2 separate regions of the Homo sapiens genome follow, and region 2 is linked to region 1. Evidence: promoter capture Hi-C in 16 types of primary human blood cells and fetal thymus (Javierre and others, 2016). All regions are on one chromosome and are shown on one strand. The core of a region is centred on a gene start or on the middle of the fragment in contact, and the rest is flanking DNA. Distances in the headings are between cores, read along the strand shown.

Region 1 (5,657 bases), core at 732-3,231:
TTATTGATTTATAAAAGCTCTTTCATTTTAGAAACATTAATAATAAATATTTTACCTAGTTAAGAAAATTTAGCTGCCAAGTGATGTCTTTTCCATATGGTGACAAATACATTAAGGAGAGGGGAAGGTCAAAATTTGTGCTTTATGATTTCTTCTTAATTTTTAAAAATTTTTAATTTTATGGGAACATAGTGGGTGTATATATTTATGGGGTACACGAGATATTTTGATACAGGCATGCAATGTGTAATAATCACATTAGGGTAAATGGGGTATCTGGCACCTCAAGCATTTAGCATTTCCTTTTGTTACAAACAATCCAATTGTACTCTTTCAGTTATTTTAAAATGTACAATATGTTTTGCTGACTGTAATAACCCTGTTGTGCTGTCAAATACCAGATCCTATTCATTCTATCTAACTCTATTTTTGTACCTAGTAACCATTCCACCCCCGCCCCTTCCTAGCCTCTGGTAACCATCATTCTATTCTCTCTGTCCATGAGTTCAATTGTTTTAATTTTTAGCTCTCACAAATGAATGAAAACATGTGAAGTTTGTCTTTCCATGCCTGTTTTATTTCATTTAACAGAATGTCCTCCAGTTCCATCCATGGTGTTGTAAATGACAGGATCTCATTCCTTTTTATGGCTGAATAGTACTCCACTACGCATATGTACCACATTTTCTTCATCTAATTTATCTGTTGATGGACACTTACATTGCTTCCAGATCTTGTCTATTGTGAACAGAGCTGCAATAAACATGGCAGTGCAGGAATCTCTTCAAGATACTGATTTCTTTTTTGGGGGTATATACCTAGCAGTGGGATTGCTGGATCAGATGGTAGCTCTATATTTAGTTTTCTGACAAACCCCAATACTGTTCTCCATAGTGGCTGCATTAATTCACATTCTCACCAGCAATGTAGGAGGGTTCATTCTCTTTTCTTCACATCCTTGCCAGCATTTGTTATTGCCTGTCTTTTGGATAAAAGCCATTTTAACTAGGGTGAGACTTTATGATTTCTTGGTGAACAAGGAAAAGTGTTTAAGCTGTCCCCACCCTTTGATGGGTATGTTCTCTCTTCACGTGCGTAGGTTGTTGATGAAAGTCTAAGCGATTAATTTAAGCCATGTCAGAATAAACCAAAGTGAGGGTCCCAGCAGAATCATTCACTCTAGAATGCTCGGCTTTCTGGACCTCCCAGTGAGAACAGTGAGAAACTCCAGAGTTTTATGGATTTTAAGAATAGCTCTTCTGAGACTCTTTGGACAGGGTGCAAAGGAAAATTGTCTCCTCAGGTTGGGGGATGAGGGGGACTGTGAGATAAAGTACTGATAGATAAACTCCAGGTATGCACCTACTATGCTCCCCAAGCAATCTGCCATGTCCTTCACATGTCCTCCAGGGTGGCCCTGTGAAAAGCATTACTCCATCCCTTCAGCCCTCAACCTTGCTCGGCTTTCTAGAGTCTGTCTCATGCCGGCAGACACCCCATAGTTATTATTCTCTCTGCCCTCAGCAACATTTACCAGTTAGGGGGAAAATAAAGCCAGAAAATTGTTGCTATGGGCTCTGTTTTGTGGAAGTTAAAATGCTAGAGCAAGAATCTGATTGCTTGATAGCTCCATCTCTCTCTCTCTCTCCCTCCTACCCTCCTACCCCCCCACAGTTTCTCCTTCTTTTCCTCTCCCCTCCACCTCCTTCCCCCACCCCGCTCCCCCACATTTTCCTACTCCTCTCCCCTCTCTCCACTGGCCTCCCGGTCCTGCCCCCACATTGGGCTGGAGGAGAGCCTTACAGGTTGTCAATGAAACATGGAATTATTTCCTTTGATGGCTTAGATAATAGTAGGAGCCAAAGCAATGAGTGAGGTCGGCTGAAACCAATGCAGTCCTGCCCGGGACTGGAGAGCCAATCGCAAGAGCAGAGGGCGGGGCGTCGGAGCCAGCAGATAATTGCTAAGTGCATCGCTAGCACAGTTGGTCCGAGCTGCCGAAAGGTCTGGTCGCAGAGACAGGAACGTGTAATCCTCAGCGTGCTCCAGCCCACAGCTTCGCTCTACTGCTCGGCAGGGCAGCTGGCCTCTGGGCACCGGCGGCCCCTCTGCCTCGCGGAAAAGGTACCTCTGCCTGCGTCCCGGGGGTGCAGCGCCTGCGTCTCCATTGCCAGTGGCTTTGCAGTTTAGCCTAGGTGGAGGGATTGCAGAAAGAAAAGTTTCTGGGAGGGAATGTGATAAAGGTGGGAAATCACTGTCTTTTGTTGGGAGGAAAACAAGCGGACAATTTGGGAAACTTCTGCGCTGGCAAGAAATGGGCTTGTTTACTACTCCTAATTAGCTGCGCTCAGGTCTGTCTAAATAGGTCTGGTCTCAGGCTAGGGTGTCTGCAGGGCTGGGGTGGAGATTCGGGTGTGCTGGGTGAAAGAAGTTGGATCCCAGGGTGTGCTGTTTCCTGGTGCACCCATCATGGATAGGCTGGTTCCGAGAGAAACGTGATTGGTTGTTTGTGTTTTCCGCTATAGGGTCTGTCCCCTTCGTATTACCTTGATCTGCCTTCCCCAAACTATTGTGACCTTCAACTGGAGTCCTTCCTCAAACTTCTGCCTCCTTCCTGCCTGTCTCAGTTCATTTTATTTGGTGGAAGGAGACATTCCCCGGGGTGGGTGGGTGAGGATGGTCTATTCTGTTTGACCTGGTGGGCACCTACGTGACAACTTGGTGACACGCCAGCAAAACAGTTCTCAGAGGAGAGGAAATCACATAATTAATTAGCTCCCGAAAACTCTGGAAGACTTTCCAGGCTTGGGGTATCCTGAAAAAAAAAAAAAAAGAAAAAGCCAAAAAACGGGATAGAGAGTTCGGTTTGGTACCATGTGAAGCTTACACCCTTGTCCCCAGAAGGGGTGCCTGGCCCGGAGCATCCCCGCAGCTCTGGGAGGTGGAGGCTGGTGGAGGGGGTGGCTCCGTGTAGGTGCGCAGGTTGTTTTGGTGCACAGGTGCATTTGTGGCAGAGGTGGTGCTGAAGTCACCATCCACACTGCTTCTGCTAACTGCTCTTGAAGTAAAACAGCTCACCCCGGCAGGCAGCTGGTTCAGCCCAGAAGCACCCTTGAGCATTCTAAATCGCGAGACCTCAGGGGCCTCTCTTGCTCTGAGACCCTTGGGAAACTCCTTTCTCCCCCTGCCTCCTCCGCCTTTGGCTTCTGCTAAAGGGAGATATTAGGTAGGTGAGTCACTAGGAAGCAGGGACCCATGGGGAAGCAGGCGATGTGCTTGGTCTCGAACTTTCTTCCTCTTCTGCGAAGGCAGCTTCTGCTTGTGTGCCCACCGCACTTCACCAGTTGCGCTGCCTACCTGCGGGATACTCTGAAGCTGATAGTCTGGGGGTGATCTTCCAAGTCCTAGGGGCATTGAAGAGTTTAGATGATTTTCATCCCTCTGATTTCCGTTAAACCCGCAGCTGGGGAGTTCGATTCCCAGTCCTGACAAGACTGCATGTTCTGGGAGGGATTCTCCAGTGACACCTCTTCCTCAGGGCACCCTTCCACGGAGATGCAGATGACAGTCTTGATTCTCCAGCTCCACAAATCCCTTCCACTTTTTAATTCTTATTTTCTTTAACCACCACAACAGATTCTCCTCCACCTCCTGTAGGCAGCTATTTTGGGTGGGAACTGTGATTATTGAAACTCTATTCACAATGGTTAAAAAAATGCCTGCCCACTTTTTTTTTGGGGGGGGTGTCAAAATACCATCAGCGTTCTCTTCTGTACTTCCTATCTGACAGTAAACAAAACAATTTTGCAGCCCTGCCAATTATAATCTTTTTGTGTTTGGGGGGCCTGGAGCGGAAGCTGAACTTTTCCCAGCCGGTGGGCATGGTTAGTCATGGACGTCGTCCTCTGTGGCCTCTCCAGGGCACGTGACCCCCAGGGAGCCCAGGAGGGGCAGCCCCCAGCACGTGGGGGATCTTGCATGAGAGCACCTTGGTTTTCATGAAGGCAGTAAGGAAACCAGAAAATGCTTTTGAGTTTGAGGATTGCAAAACTGGGGGTTCCCTTTAATTGATGCCAATCTGTTGGATTTCTATCGTGATAGGAAACATTAAAAGTAAGGCATTTGAAACAGCTCCTGAAGGGTGAGTCATGCACAGAGGGAAGAGGCAGTGTGGGGGGAGGGGGCGGAGGGGGCCTTGGAAAGTACAAGTGGGACACGCTGGAGCGCTCGCTTTCCTTCCCTCTGCCTCCTCCTCAATCCTCTTTCTTGTATTTCCCCATTCGGAACAGAGATCATTAAAATAACAACTTTAGACCAAAAAAGGATCCTAGGAGCTGAAAAATAATTGACAAAGTGCAAAACACCCTCATTACAGCTTCACCTTGGATGGGGTGAGGTGTGAAACCCAGGACCCAGCGCCTCTGCTGCGATCCAGTTTGGAGAATCTAATTGCTGGTGTTAGGCTAATTAACTCCTTGTGAAGCTGCGTGCCTGTTTGTGTATGCAAGGACCGATGAATGCCTAGGAAATTAAATGTGTTACTTGTCATTTCATCAAACATGATGGCTTTGGCCAGGACCCTGGATAAGCACTATCCACAGACCCAGCGTTTTCTCCTCTTCCCAATTGGCCAAACTGGATCTCTCTCTCTTTTAACCACTATGGTGGGAAGGGGTTGTGTCTTTCTGCTTTTCCAAGCCCTGCGTGAGTTACCTGGCAAATAAAAGTCCTCTCCTTACCCCTCTGTCCCTCCATCCCTGTCATCCTTCTGTTATCCCTTTTCATCATAAACATATCAGTAAGTAATCTTTTGCCAACCTACTTTGATCTTGTCATTTTGTGCTGATTTTTCTGTTAAAGAAAATTGTCCCCTGAAATAAGACTGAAAACATATTAAAATTTTTATCAGAGAAGAGCCTTTTTGCCTTCTGCTTTAAAATTTAATTTTGTGCTTTTGGGGAAATCTAATAAGCACGCCTATTGTGTTCGCTGTTTTGGTAAACGCTTTTACAATGTCTTGTTTTTTTTTTCTGTGGATGTGTGAATTCCCTTCCTGTCCTAGGGGAAGGTGTGTCTGGAGATTTGAAACACTCTGGAACACCTCAGAAAGTTGAAGAGGTTGGAGCACGCTATTTCCATGTATTCAAGGTGGGGTGAAGGCTGTTTTGAAACCTAGACCCTGAAATGTATTCACCACACTCTGCTATTTTCCCTCTTCATCTTTCATTTAGGAAAATTTCATAGCCCAAATTATGACTAAATCATTCATCCTACTCACTCTCCTTCCCATGCTCGTGCCCCTTCCTCCCTTCCTCCATTCACCCTACATGTAGGGTTACCTCTCTTTCCTGGTTACTTTTTGTTTCTTCCTTCCTGTCATTTCAGGGGGCCCCAGGGTGGAGATCTAATTGTAGATGTTTTGTGCACCTCACTCCTGAAACAGTTAACCAGGGGACATCAGGAATTGTGGAATGTGATAGGAGCCTACCCTAGGGGAGCAATGAGGTAATCCTGTCCCCAAGTTCAGTTCTATGCAGACCTCACCAGAGCACCTGGAGTGGTGCAGCTGACCTGCATGAGGCAGACAGGGCAGATGCTTCGAAGCACAGTCCTGTCTGACACCTGGAGAGTCCCACCAGCCGCAAGCCCTCACTGTG
Region 2 (4,907 bases), core at 1,384-3,883, 740 kb after region 1:
GGAGAAGATATACTTTGTACCCTATTGAAAACAACAGTGGCAGAGTAAATAGTTATGAGTATGTATAATACACTTAACTCTTGAACTACATTTAGCATCCAAGTGTGCTTCAATTTTTGAATAGAAAATAAAGATTTTCACTGATGGGCCCTATCAGGAGAAGGAAGTTATTTCTAGCACACGCAGTGAACATTAAGAAAGCTCAGTTCATAAGGATGGGAAAGTAGGGTTATGGAGCCGAGGGCCTCTTTACAGCCTTCTCTTTCATACTCCCGTAACACAGCACAGTGAAAATGAAACAGGGAAAATTTCTATGGAATTGTCTAGTATGTCCCCAGCCTGGGTTAGGCTTCCTCCAATTCTCCTGCTACTCCGCAAACCCTTTTTCTGTTTATAACTTTTTTTGGAGTTATAGCTGTCTCTACAAATCTCGTGAAAATTATCAATATTCCTCTTAGAAAAATGCACACACACACACACACACACACACACACACAATTTTGCATATTAATGTGTTATCTTCCGGAATGCTCTCTTGGAAAGAACTCATTTTTAATAAAGTGCTTTGCATTATCTTCAGTGAACGAGTAAATTACTATTTGAAAATAGAATTTGCCATTTGATTTTCTTTTTAAAAACATAGTATTTATAATCCTGACTTGTAACCCTCCCAGCAGATGTGAGGTAATTCACTTGTTTTGACTTACTGTGATCAGCATTTTGAAAAACACTTTAGGTGTTTCTAAAATGCTTAACTTGTGGAAAAATTTCATTTTTGTTAGGAAAGCATAGCAGGCATTTACGTATGCTGTCCTAGAAACATTTTATTATAGTTTTAACGGGAAATAAGCAAAGAGATAATATTATTTCTATATTTGTTCCTATTAAACAAACAGTAGTAACACACAGAATCTTGGTCATCACTCAGACTCTAAACCCAAAACATATTGCTTGGGAAAAATAGATGTACACATGTACATAGCTACTGTAATCATAGAAGAAATTTTTCAAAAGTATGAAGAGAAAGCCTTTTAAAACTCATCCTTAATGGATACATAAATAGAAATGCCAAGGAGTCAATCTATGAACTTCTATATCTATATTTTATATTTTAAGATTGGGACAGAGAAACTTCCCAGATATTTGACGTAAGAATTTGTTTTGAAAAAGTTTGGTAATTAATATAAAACTACTCTAAAATTAACTTTTATTGTTAGAGACACATCTTTAGAAAAGTTTGTAAATATCAACATTTACCATCTTATTTTTTCCTTTGAGACCAAGCATCACAGACCAAAAGCCACAAAGTTTACAATAATTTATTATTGTTGCATGACATTTGCCAGTAAAATAAATTATAGAAACTATAGAGTCTTTATAAACTATTTTGTATATCATATTCACTTCCTAATGCTTACTGCAGTAACTGTATGAAATTTAATTAGATTACGTTTTAGCATTAGTCAGAAGATTTAAAAAATATGTAAAATGTTTTCACAGTACTTTGGATTTATAAAAGACCCCATTATTTTAACTTTTGTGCAACCTGTTTGAAATGTATAAAAAACCTTTTACAAACCAAAAGGTGGCGTAAGGTTTTACTGAGTTGCTGAAGACATCTTACTTTCTTGAATTTCTACTTAACATCCATGTGGTGCACTTTTTCAGGCATTGTAATAAGTGCAAATAAATAATCAATTATTGATTTCTAAAAATCTATACCAATAGACAATACTCAGGCTTGGAAATATTTTGAACACTCAGATATAAAAATTCAGTAAACAATTTATGCATGGTATTTTCTCTCCCTGTCCTCCCTCTCCCTCCTCCCTTCCCCTATCTATTTGGTTAAAAAAAAAAAAAAAAGTTCAACTTCGATTTAAGTCCTAGGGCCTGACAAAGTGACCCTGGATAAATGTCATCTCCAGCCATCTGTTTTCTTTAGTTCTCATTACATCTGTCCAGGCTCTTCTATCAGCATCAATCCTTTCCTGCAGGGACGGAAGAGTTTTCAAATCCTTGCTGAAAGCATTTTGTTCTCCTCTGTAACAGCACAGGGCATGAAATTGTTTGGAGTCTTTGTAACCAGTCTGTTCAGTCCTGGTCCCTTTCCAGTCCCGGTCCCTTTCCAGCCTCTGGAGTCCTGACAGAAGAGAAGCTTGTAAGGTAGCAGCAAAATGCTGCATCTGTTAGAATCTCACAAACTCACTTGGTCTTTGAATGTCCATTCTTGGATAACGTCCTTATCCATCCTCTTCTCTTCAGTGAACTTTGATGGAATATTTCCGCAGTTTCAGAAACTGGAAAAGCTTGTCTTTTGTCCTCTTCTTCAAGGCCATCAGGGCACGCGTTTTCTCCTCCACATCTTGATCTATGGCAAAAATGATCTTGGCTCTCTCCTCTGCTTTCTTGTCTCCAGAGTTTCTGAAGAGCCTTTCTAGTGATTCTTGGTCTGTGTTTTCAAAGATGTTGCCCACGGCTTTCTTACGAGAGGCTGTGTCGAAGTGGTAGCCATGGATGGATGGGCTGACTCGTAGCGACGTGGACATGATGACGGCTTGGTGGCTTCGCTTTGCTTTCATCGATGTGGGGATCTTCCGGAATTCAGCTCCCAGGCTTTCCAGAGAGTCTGTAGTGAAATCATTCTGGGACTGCTATTTAAAGTGTGAACAAAAGCTCCAGGCTCAAATTACACTGGTGACATCAGAGTGATCTCAAGGAAGAATAATCACAGAAAGGCTTAACAGTTGAGTTGCCAATATCCTGTTCTTGTGTAAAACATTACTAAAAGCTGTGTTCAGTGATTAGGCGCAAGGCTGTGAGTACTCATTTTACTTCCTATGTGGCAGTAGGATAATACAGACCTGGGCCTTCCTTTAAGAAAATAGCTGAATACAGGAAAATGCAAAGATAAGACATAAACGAGGTTGCTTAGACTCTCAAATCTTCCCAAACGACAGTTAGAACAAGGGGTTCTGCTAACTACAGGAAAGCTTTCGTTCGCAGAGAAGTAATTAAAGTGCACTGCAAACATTTGGCAGTCCACATCAGTGCCCTTTGGACATCCATATCAGGGGCAACTCCAGAGCTACTGAGAGAAAGCTGAGCAATCAAGGATAATAATTTGGGGTGTGATCAATTCTAGGATGGGATTTTACATACAAAACGCTGACATGACACAGCTTGAAACGGTGACTTTTCAGAGATTGTGTACAAGTGCTAAGTGTCACTGAAGACCATTGTAATTTGGGTGTAGTAATAATATGAATAGTAGAGGCTATCTCCTTAGGCTTGTGTATACATCCACAACAATAGCTATCAAAAAAGCCAGCAGGAAAAGTTAATCAAGTGTTTTACGTGCACAGTGCCCAAAATGAACGAGGTGATCTTTTGTTTTCAAATTTATTTTGGCATTACCCAGACATAGAGCAATAACTTCTTTGGAAGCATATAAATGTGTTCTTCCTGTCTTCCACAATATTCAAGCCAGCCAGTGTCCTCACTGACCTATGGAGTTGTCATATGCTAAATGTGAGCTTCAAAGGGTCCTGGAGATTCTCTTTGTGGATCTTACGCCTGGTCCGCTTTCTAGTCCTTTAAGAAAGCAGGACAGGTCTTTTCGTTTTTCTTTTTATCTAGTCAAGTAAGATCTAGAAAATGCGCAAAGGGAGACACCGTGGGGAAGGTACCTCACTAGGAAATTAAGTTAGAGACTCTCCTTATATTTTAATTCATTCATTCACTTACTCGTTTATCCACTCATTTATTTAATCAATATTTATTAAAGGTGTGTTATTAGCCAGAACTTTTTGAGGCATTGGAAATGAAACAGAAAACCAAACAAAACCAACCTAACCAAACCATGCAAAGAATCCCTTTTTTACCTTAATGAAGTTTATGTTCTACTGGGAAATAGACAATAGAAACATACATTTATAATATATATCATGTCAGAGTAAGGAATATTATGAGTAAAAATGAAGCAGAGTTGTACAGGAGTGGAAGGAGAGGGTTGAGATTTTCCTAGGATATTCAGGCACAGCTTCTTGTAATGAGACATTGTGCAAAGACTTGAAGGTGGTGAAGGAGGCAGTCAGCTATATGGATATCTGTAGGAAGGGTGCTGCCAGAGAAGCAAGTGCAGAAGGTTGAAGAAAAGAGTGTGCAAAGAGTGTATGGAGAACAGCCAGGGACCAGTGTGGTCAGAGCAGAGTGAGCAGGGCAGAGTGGGAGGAGATGAGGTAAGGGCGAGTAGGCAGTGGAAAGAGGGCAGGAGCAGGCTGTGTGCAACCTCACAGGCTTTGATTGTGGATTTAGCTCGTACACTGTTAGGAGACAGGTGGGCTTTGGAGAATTTGGAGCAGAGAAATGGCATGGTTTTCCTTATAATTTTAAAAGCTTACTGACACTTCTTAGAAGAGAATAGATTTCAGGGAAGCAAGCAGGGAGTGGGGAGCAGGAAGACTAGTCAGGAGATGTTCAATAATCCAAGAAAGAGAGGATGAAGGCTTCCACTAGGGAGAATGTGGAGGTAGTGAGAACTGATCCAATTCTGGCATATTGTGAAGGTAAAGCTAAGACGATTGCTGAAAAATTAGATGCGAGGAATGAATAACAAACAGGAGCCCAGGCTGATCTCTTCTGAAGGATGCCTCCTTGAAAGACATTTCCAGGTGTGCCAGTGGTCAACTCTCCAACCATGCAGCTCATGTGTGTTCCAGTTTTTCCAAGGGTTCCAGAAGAGCCCTTTGTTCTGCTGTCTATGTCTATGGATTTACAGGCCTATATAGCACACCTTTGTGGCAGCATCGTTTCCCTTGCTAAATTTAAAAAAAAATTATTATTATGGCAACAAGGATTTACTGAGCTTTTATTATGTGCCAAGCAGAGGACAAGAGATTCACAAA

Evidence for each region. Contacts are between HindIII fragments. The CHiCAGO score rates a contact against its expected background, and 5 or more counts as called.
Region 2: a contact is called between the fragment with the promoter of TCIM here and the fragment with the promoter of ZMAT4 in region 1, in 4 of 17 cell types (M0 macrophages, erythroblasts, M2 macrophages and 1 more). The highest score is 13.9, in M0 macrophages.

What each region holds. Positions count from the first base shown.
Region 1 is chr8:40,894,150-40,899,806 of GRCh38, reverse strand. ZMAT4 (zinc finger matrin-type 4) reads left to right here and starts at 1,981. Exons shown (of 7, transcript NM_024645.3): 1 at 1,981-2,124. The HindIII fragment of the contact is 2,974 bases long and covers 1-2,884 here.
Region 2 is chr8:40,151,208-40,156,114 of GRCh38, reverse strand. It overlaps TCIM (transcriptional and immune response regulator), which reads right to left and starts at 2,633. Exons shown (of 1, transcript NM_020130.5): 1 at 805-2,633. The coding sequence starts at 2,582. The coding sequence ends at 2,262. The region is part of intron 3 of LINC02866 (long intergenic non-protein coding RNA 2866); the gene reads right to left. The HindIII fragment of the contact is 684 bases long and covers 2,312-2,995 here.